Regions from separate parts of the Homo sapiens genome. Here region 1 is linked to region 2. Evidence: promoter capture Hi-C in human tissues and cell types (Jung and others, 2019). All regions are on one chromosome and are shown on one strand. Each heading gives the region's core, a stretch centred on a gene start or on the middle of the fragment in contact. The rest is flanking DNA. Distances are from core to core; before and after follow the strand shown.

What was found. The method cuts DNA at HindIII sites, captures the fragments that hold promoters and counts their contacts. A contact is called where the count stands out against the background at its distance.
Region 1: a fragment that was not itself captured here is called in contact with the fragment with the promoter of ADRA1B in region 2 in 4 of the 25 tissues and cell types used here (H1 embryonic stem cells, IMR-90 fibroblasts, hippocampus and 1 more).

What each region holds. Positions count from the first base shown.
Region 1 is chr5:159,802,543-159,807,179 of GRCh38, forward strand. All of the region lies in intron 2 of LINC01847 (long intergenic non-protein coding RNA 1847), which reads right to left. Among named protein-coding and RNA genes, the nearest start is that of LINC01847, 67 kb to the right of the region's middle. The HindIII fragment of the contact is 5,822 bases long and covers 447-4,637 here.
Region 2 is chr5:159,913,336-159,918,547 of GRCh38, forward strand. It overlaps ADRA1B (adrenoceptor alpha 1B), which reads left to right and starts at 3,147. Exons shown (of 2, transcript NM_000679.4): 1 at 3,147-4,519. The coding sequence starts at 3,571. RefSeq lists a silencer at 2,981-3,040 and enhancers at 3,104-3,720, 3,721-4,337. The HindIII fragment of the contact is 5,190 bases long and covers 357-5,212 here.

The DNA.
Region 1 (4,637 bases), core at 2,108-4,607, 110 kb before region 2:
TGGTCATAAGTCTTTTTTTTTCTTTAATGGAGCACACTCTTTGTGGCCACTGAACCCTACTTCTGGTTGATTAGGCTCTTAGTATTTAATAAGCTTCAACAGGAAATGAGTAGAATTAGTACAGTGTCTTGAATAATGAGCTGTTAATGTATTTTTAATGACCAAGATGTTCCAACAAGAAACTTGTTGATTTTTGTCACAAAACATTATTGGAAAAATGATCTGCACGTAGCCTGGATGGTGTTTTATGTGAAGTGAGATGATGTTTTACTACATTCAGAGTACTCTTTTACAAGCCAACTTGATTTAGGGAAGTTGCTACAGGAAGAGGAAAGAGCTTAGCAATTAGAACTGAGTATAAACTGTAACTTTTTTTAGGATTTCAGTCACAGAAAAAAATGTATTTCTTTTTTTTTTTTTTTTTAGACAGAGTCTTGCTCTATTGTCCTGGCTGGAGTGCAATGATGTGATCTCTGCTCACTGCAACCTCTGCCTCCTGGGTTCAAGCAATTCTCCTGCCTCAGCATCCCGAGTAGCTAGGATTACAGACACCCAGCACCGCGCATGGCTAACTTTTTATTTTTAGTAGAGACGGGGTTTCACCATGTTGACCAGACTGATCTCAAACTCCTGACCTCGTGATTCGCCCGCCTCGGCCTCCCAAAGTGCTGGGATTCCAGGCATGAGCCCCCGCTCCCAGCCAAAAACATATTTCTTATAGAGGATCTCACTTTGTCTCTTTTGTTCCTTGCTTGATAGTAGTTATTAACCCATTTTACAGATAGACAAAGTGGAAAAGCTTGTTCTGCTTTTTTTTCTGTAAAATAGAAGGATCATTTCTATCTGGGTCTGACTTTTTTAGTGGAAGAGATTATATAAACTTTCTGGGTCTCAGTTTCTTTATCTGTTAAATTAAGATAATAAAGTGCATGTGTCAGAAGAAATTGTAAAAACTAAATGAGATAATTCATGGAAAACACCACTAGATCTTTCTCTTCTGTGTTCCTTAGGACAAGTTAATTAATATCTTCTTAAGATATTACTCCTTTGGGAAAATTTTGCATTTCAGTAGCCTTTATACTCTAATTGCATTATGAGCTCCCTAAGGTCATTGTGAGCTCCCTAACTGTACTTTAGACATTTTTCTTTTTATTCCTTGCATTTAGCACAATACTGGGCTCAGAGCCGGTGATCGATAAACACCTGTCAAAAGATTGCCTCCAAGGTGTCTTCCAGGACTTACGTGCTGTAATTACTTCCAACAGACTTCTCCTCAAGGAGATATAGAATGTAAATTTGTACCTAGAGTCGTCTGTTCCTTTTGTAGAATCATGGCCCAAGAATCCCAGGTTTCAAGTTAAGAAGCACGAAATTGGTTCATTCAGTGATCATTCACTATGACATCAAAACCCTGCAATTCCAGGATAGTAATTAATTTAATTGAAATGAATCTATGGCTAGACACTGTCTCTCCAGCAAAAATGTAGCTGCAAATGCTTCCTGGGGGCAAATTTGAAGAGTAACATGAAGTAGAGTTGACCTAAGAAGAAAATAAAGAAAAAAGCTAAATATCCAGGATAGTTCCATGATTTTAGATGGTGATTTTTGGTATTTAAGTGGATTAGGATATAAGGTAGGGAGGAGTAAAGAAATGAGGGAATATTTGCCACTAATATACCATTGATGATGATAATGATGATAGTTACCATTTTATGAGCAGTTACTACATGAAAGTGCCATGTCACGCAACTTATATCCATTGTTTCATTTCCTCTTCATAGCTACACTAAGAGGTAAATGCTACTACTGTTTCCATTTTATAAATGAAAAAAAAATGAGGCTCAGAGAAGTTAATTCCTTTCACAATGTCATATAGTCAATATGTAGTAGAGGCAGAATTTGAACCCAGTTTTGATTATTTTAAAATAGCATATTTAGCCAATTCTGTAGCTGAATCCTAAACTTCTCTCTTCTTCTAATGCAAACAATAAATTAAATAGTAATTTAAGTTTTATAACTACTACTACATGTTAAAAAGAAAAACCCCATGTTGGATAAGCAGATTTATTTAACAATGTAATAATAATTTCCAGGGCCTTATCAAGGGTTAGCTATGAATTGGAAATTTTAAACAGTGATATTGTGGGTTTTATCTCTTATCTACAACTCTGCAAAGAAGATATAATAGACCATTTTACACATGAGAAAACTAAGCTCATGCAACTAAAACAACTTCCCTTATTCCCAGAGGTGACAAATGGCAGAGGACAGATCTTGAATACAGGCCCTGATTTTTCCTTTGATCTCTGCTGAGGTAGTATTATACCAGGAACATATTCTGCTATATGGAAAATGTGGTTGGAGATAAGCTATGGAAAAGACATTATAATTCAGCCTACTTTTTAAGTTCTGAGTCTCAAGAGGGTTGTTTTGTTTGTTTTGCTTTTTCTCTTAATGAAATTATTCAAAGGCATCTCTCAAATGTTTGGGATTTGAGTAAGAAATGCCAAAACATGCTTCTTCTCTTAAGAATGTTCTTCTCTGTCTGTTAAAATCTCTATGTAATTTCAGGCAAAATTTAATTCATCTGTTTCTGATTCACTTCCCAAACTTACCACCATGTTTCGTAGAGGCCATTTAAAGTCTATGACTTTCGGAGTTGCTCTGAGCTACTTGTCTTTAAAATAGGAAGTTAGATTTTTTCATAAGGGCAGAGGACTTGGCCTCAGAGGAAAGGGGATGTGTTCCAAGTCCCAAGCCACAAAGTGCATGTGGTTTCCAAACCTGGCTGGTGTCTGCTTCTCCACCCCTCTACTGCAAGCCTCAGCACAGTGACTTCACTCAACAGCCAGAATCAGAATTTATCTCCCTTTTCTGTTCAAAATTCATTATAATATTTGAATCTAATTTTAAGAGCAATCAGAGACGAAAAAGAAATGAAGGACATCCAAATCAGAAAGGAAGAAATAAAATCCTTGTTTAAAGATGACATGATTCTATACGTAGAAAGCTTTAAAGACTCCACACCAAAAAAAAAAAAAAAAAACTGTTAGAACTAATAAATGAATTCAGTAAAACAGCAGGATACAAAGATCACTGTACAAAAATTAGTAGCATTTCCTTACATCAACAACTACTTATCCAAAAAAGAAAATCAAGAAAATGATCCCATTTACAATAGCATTAAAAAGAATAATTATAAAGCTATGATAATCAAAACTGTATGGTACTGAAATAAAGATAGACACATAGACCAATGAAAGAGAAATAAACCCAAATATACAAGGTCAACTAATTTTCAACAAGGGCACTAAGAATACACAAAGGGGAAAGGATAGCCTCTTTAATTAATGATGTTGGGAGAACTGAATACCAACATACAAAAGAACAAAACTGAAACCTTATCTTACACCTACCAAAAATCAATTCAAAATGGATTAAAGACTTAAAAGTAAGACTTGAAACCATAAAATTCCTAGAAGAAAACAAAGGGGAAAACTTCTTGACATTGACCTTTGCCATGATTTTTTGGATATGACACCAAAAGTTCATGAAACAAAAGCAAAAATAAACAAGTGACACCTGCACGTTGTGCACATGTACCCTAGAACTGAAAGTATAATAATAAAAAAAATTTTAAAAAAATAAACAAGTGAGACTACATCAAGCATAAAAGCTTCTGAGCAGCAAAGGAAACAATCAACAAAATAAAAAGGCAATCTGTGAACTGGGATTACCTAGTTCTTGGTTAATTATTTTTAATGCATTGAAATTTATTGCACAAATAAAAGAACTGCTTTTTTAAAAGATGAAAAATAGGAACTATGTTTAAAATAAAAAATATTTTTACTCTTTTCCAAGTTTCCTTCCAATTCTTGTTTACATATACTCACGAATTTTTACACAGCTGCAATGAAAGTGAATACATGATTTGGTAGCATACAAATGTTATTTAATCATAAGTATGTTTCTTCGTTGCTATTTGGTCTAAATTGTTTTTAGTGACTGCATAATATGCTATAAAGTTGATGTCCCATAGCATAAATTCAGGAGTTTTAGATTCTTTCAAACAGTTTGAGATATGTATAAAGAGTTAATACATTCAGAGTTCCATTTCTGGTATGGTAAATTAAACTGCTAACAGACTGACCCTTCTGTAAACAACTATAAACTCTGGAGAACATGTGAGGGGAGAAAAACCATCAGAAGGCCACAGAAAATGAACAAAAGCAGACATATTTTGGAGGAAAATTAAAAGTTGAAGGAAGGGACCAGTACAGAGTGAGTTTCTAGTTTTTGTAGTTTTAGCCTTAGGTGAGACCACAATAGTAGTACAACATGAAGCAGCTAAAACTCCAAAGAAAATCCACCATTTTTCTAGCCAGAAGAACCAGAATACAAGAGACTGGGCAAGTATAGCCACTGGCCAGTAAGAAAAAAATCCCAGAAAAGAGAGGTCCAGAAAAGGGTGCTCACAATTCTATTTAAAACCCTGCCCAAGTCTCTGGGTGTACCCTATGGCAGCTAAAACCAAACAAGATTTAAGCTGCCAGCCATCACAGGCAAGAGTTTACACTTTGAGTCAAACCAAGTTAATTGTCAGCTAAAACAAAAACATCAACCCTCCTGCAAGAAAT
Region 2 (5,212 bases), core at 1,897-4,396:
GGGTTAAGAGGCATCTCTAGCAAAGGAAGGGGAGGAGCAGCAAGGAAAGCACCATTAGCAAAGGTTGCTGTGTGGGGTCCTGCTACACGGCTGTTATTAAGGCTAATACCTGTTCCCCTTACAGTGAGATCTTTGTTTTGCCTTCACGAAACACACTGGTAAATGACAACAAGTCTGAAATCTGCAAGGATTTTGAACTTGTCAATCTGGCTCAATAATTTCTTCCACATCCTGACACCTGAATCAAGACATAAGTTCTCATCTAGGTAACAAACTATTTTCTTTCACAATGAGGATAAACCATCTCTGAATCTCAGATTTGCTCTTTTTTTTTCATCCTGGCCTTTTGCCACCACAGAAAAATGTCTGATAGGCTGAGTTTTCACATTGCAGCTGGTTACTGTGATTATGTAGACACAGCCTCAGTAAATTCAATGGTGTGTTGCTGGCTGTTCAATAGCTGGTGAAATTAATGCCCAGGGAAGTGGGAAATGGGCCACCACAATCAAAATGTGGATTTGGAACTTGCTCTTTATTTTATCCCACCCTTACCCTCCCCTACACCCCTGTCTTTGTGCTAATGCCAGCTACGTGCCAGGTTACTGGTATTCTCTTCCTCCTCCCTCTCCCCTTATAAGTAAACCAGCTCAAGAGAAGCCCCATTATCTTAGACTTAATGATACATTGGGAATGGTGGGAACTGAGTTCATGATACCTCACTCTCACCCCTACCCTGGAAGATGCATGAGAGAAAGGATAGCAGGTGCCTTCGGGGGCCACTTTATCCAGCAAGAGAAGCTGACCACCTGGAGCTACGGGATCTCAAAGATCATCTAAGCCAGGTCCTATCTGCAGACAGACTAGTCTGAGCCACCCAGGACCAATGACAGCCTCTCCTTTTAATAAAGACCCCTGACAGAGGGCTGCCAAGTTCTTCCAGTCTCACACCCCACTGTGTAGGTCATGAGTGGCTGCAGGAGCAGAAGGAGCACTGTCCTGTAGGCCAGGGAAACAGAGTTTCCTAACCAGCTCTGCTCCTGACCATCTTGCCAAGTCTCTTTCCCTAGTGCACCACCTCCAACACAGGAAGATAAGCAAACCAAGGTTCTGAGAGCTTCTGAAGATCTAAATCACTATAAACTTGTGAATCTCTTATTATCAAATCTTCAAATACAGCTTAGGGCAATTTAATTATAATAGAAAATAATCCATTTTCAGGACTGTCTCTACCACAGATTTCTTAACCCGAGGGAAACCCCCTGAAATTGTGTATTTTGCACATGTGTGGAGTCTGTGCACTTTGCTGGGAGTAAATTAAAACCTTCGATACGTGTATGATAACCACCTGCCTCCCTTCTCAAAAAATAAAAATAAAAAGAGGTTAAGAGCTTACCTCTAGGTTGAGAAGCTTAGATGTAAGTCATCCTGAGTGACTTCTGTTTTCCCCACCCGTGAATATCAAGTTATAACAAGTATCAAGAGCAGAAGGTGAGAAACCCAAGATGCAGGCTTGTGAACTGGAGTAAAAGAAGGTATCAGGCTTTACTTTTCAATCTCCAGCTGCCACTGCCCATTGCTCTGCCATATATTTGCTAGCCTATGACCTCAGGAATCAACTGACTCTCTCTGAACCACTGTTTCTCATCTCTCAATGAACAATGGTTATGCTTCTCTCAAAGAATTGTAAAGTCTCAAAGAAACTGAGTAAATGCATGGCTATCAGTAAGCGCTCAATTCATGGGAGTCCCTGCCCAGCACCAGTGGCTCAGGCCCCAAAATTAACTACTCAAAAGGCAGCTCCATCTATAACAGTGGTTCCATCCCCTACCTTGCCCCGGGGGAAAAGTATGACACAGTAGCTGAGTACCCAACTTTGGGAGAGACCCCACAGTTGAGTTCAGTTCCCAGCAGCTCTCCTCCATGCCTTTGTGAACTTGGGCGAACAGCTAAACTTCCCCATAATTTGGTGTCTCATCCATGAAATAGAAATGGTGAAGAGTGTATTCTTTCTCTCATGAGAGTCATGAGAAAATGCAAAAAGAACTCAGCACACTGTCTAGGACAAAATAAATGTTGGATAAATGTGAACTAACATAAAGTTCTTTGGCTTTTTCTTTCTTTCTTTCTTGGCCCATACTTTCTCTTCTAAGTACCATTCACCCACCTTTGGGAGTGCGTCCCTGTGACTGAATGTCCAACATGGATATCAGACAGAAAGGAAAAAACTCAACAAATAACCAAGATCCTCTACGTCCCTTCCCCAGGTCTCTGACCTCCCTCACCCCCACTCCCAGATAGCCAGCTAGCTTCCTCCCTCAATTCCCTTCATGTTTCCTCAAATATCACTTCAGTGACATCCCAAGCACCCACTTAACATTTCAAATCCACCCCACAAACACCCCACTGCATTTCCCCCTCCTTACTTTATTTTCAGCCTAACACCTGTCATCACATTACACACCTCATCATTTGCTTATTTAGTATACTGTCTGTCTTCTGTCGGGAGAAGCTACGCTCCTATAGGGCAGGAGTCCGTCTATTTTGTTCAGTTGCTATGTTCACAGCGCCCAGAGCCAGGGCAGAGAGTGGAGACTCCGTAAGAATCGGCTGAATAAATGAGTGAATGCCTGAGCGAATGAAAGGATGAAGAGAAGCCAGATTTTACTGGGGCCAAAGAGTTTGCACGGGGCGAGGGGAGCCAGATGAAGGATGAGGGCTGGCCTCAGATCCGACTCAAGTCCCTCCCACCTGCCCAATCCTAGAATTCTCTTTCCCTCTTTTAGGTGCTGGACAAGTTGCATATCCCGTTAAATCCGGGGCCCACTCCGGGAGCCCCCTATTAAAGGTAAGCAGCCCCCAACCCACCTTTGACACGGAAGAGTGACTAGCGGGGAAAATAACCCCAGCGGGCCGCCTAGGGGTGGGTGACCCGCGATCTCCACGCCCAGGTCCCGCCCTCGCGGCCCCTGCCCCCGCCCCGCCCCCCGCAGAGGGCGCGCCCTGGGAGCGGCGGGGGACGCGGCTGGCTTCCCGGCTTGCGGGGTGGCGGCGTCGGGGCTGCGGGCGCCTTGGCTGGACCCGCATTGCCCCCTAGTGCCGCGCGGAGTCAGGGCGCCGGGCTCCCCCGCCTGATGTCACCGCCGTGCAGTCAGCCCAGAAGCGGCTCATTGAAAGCAGACCCTCTTCGGCGCTCGCTGGGCGGAGGACGCGCCGCGGTCCGCAGACCCGAGCGAGCTGGGCACCGCCGGGCGCCCCCGGCCCTGCCGCCCCCTCCTCCCCGCCGCTCCCCCGCGAGCCCGGCCAGGCGCGCCTGACGTGGACCATTAAACTTGGAGCTGCCGCCTCGTCCCCTCTCCTCCTCCTCCTCCCTCTGACAGGCGAGCGAGCGACTCGGTGCAGGCAGGAGACGTGCTGCCGGGCTGGGCTGCCCGGGGGAGATGACTCCTCGCCAGGAGGGCGCCTCTGGGAAGAAGACCACGGGGGAAGCAAAGTTTCAGGGCAGCTGAGGAGCCTTCGCCGCAGCCCTTCCGAGCCCAATCATCCCCCTGGCTATGGAGGGCGGACTCTAAGATGAATCCCGACCTGGACACCGGCCACAACACATCAGCACCTGCCCACTGGGGAGAGTTGAAAAATGCCAACTTCACTGGCCCCAACCAGACCTCGAGCAACTCCACACTGCCCCAGCTGGACATCACCAGGGCCATCTCTGTGGGCCTGGTGCTGGGCGCCTTCATCCTCTTTGCCATCGTGGGCAACATCCTAGTCATCTTGTCTGTGGCCTGCAACCGGCACCTGCGGACGCCCACCAACTACTTCATTGTCAACCTGGCCATGGCCGACCTGCTGTTGAGCTTCACCGTCCTGCCCTTCTCAGCGGCCCTAGAGGTGCTCGGCTACTGGGTGCTGGGGCGGATCTTCTGTGACATCTGGGCAGCCGTGGATGTCCTGTGCTGCACAGCGTCCATTCTGAGCCTGTGCGCCATCTCCATCGATCGCTACATCGGGGTGCGCTACTCTCTGCAGTATCCCACGCTGGTCACCCGGAGGAAGGCCATCTTGGCGCTGCTCAGTGTCTGGGTCTTGTCCACCGTCATCTCCATCGGGCCTCTCCTTGGGTGGAAGGAGCCGGCACCCAACGATGACAAGGAGTGCGGGGTCACCGAAGAACCCTTCTATGCCCTCTTCTCCTCTCTGGGCTCCTTCTACATCCCTCTGGCGGTCATTCTAGTCATGTACTGCCGTGTCTATATAGTGGCCAAGAGAACCACCAAGAACCTAGAGGCAGGAGTCATGAAGGAGATGTCCAACTCCAAGGAGCTGACCCTGAGGATCCATTCCAAGAACTTTCACGAGGACACCCTTAGCAGTACCAAGGCCAAGGGCCACAACCCCAGGAGTTCCATAGCTGTCAAACTTTTTAAGTTCTCCAGGGAAAAGAAAGCAGCTAAGACGTTGGGCATTGTGGTCGGTATGTTCATCTTGTGCTGGCTACCCTTCTTCATCGCTCTACCGCTTGGTAAGTTGGGGACTAGCAGCAGGGGGACTGGGCATTTTTGGACCTTGGGTTTACTGATGAGCTTACTCTAAAGTTTTTTGTGGGTTTTGTTTCTTATGCAGTCTGTGCGTGTTCGGAGATTGAATAATATTGTTTGTTCTGCAAAGGGTTTGCAGATTGGGGAGCTGGCTAAAAACCAACTCAGGTGTTAGTAGAACACGCTAAGGCACTAGCTTCTGGAAATAGAACCAGGGAAGGAAAATCTGGTATGAGGAATGACTCACTCAACAGCCTCGGTTTAATAATTAAAAAGGATATTCACTGGGCTTGAATATCACACCGGCGTTATTTCAGTAGTAATGATGTGTCGGCTAAGGCAGCGTCACTAATGCAGCATACAAAATAGTTTGTAGTTACTGCAGACGCGGCATTTGGGAAGCAGGGAGGCAGCTCGTACACAGAAAGGCAGCATTCATTCAGCATTTCCAGGGCTAGAGCAGAAGCCACGCTTCTCAAGAGCTTTGCAGAGGCTGCATTCTCTCCCTCCCCTCTTCACTGACAGCTATCACCCAGATATACTACGTTCATTATCCGTTAATAAGAGCATTTTACAGCCACACAGCCCCAACCAGCCTTTAAGTTATTGAAAGCTTGAGATGTGAAAGAGAAGATGACTAGAGGGTCACACATTTTTAGTTTTTACCCAAAAATGTT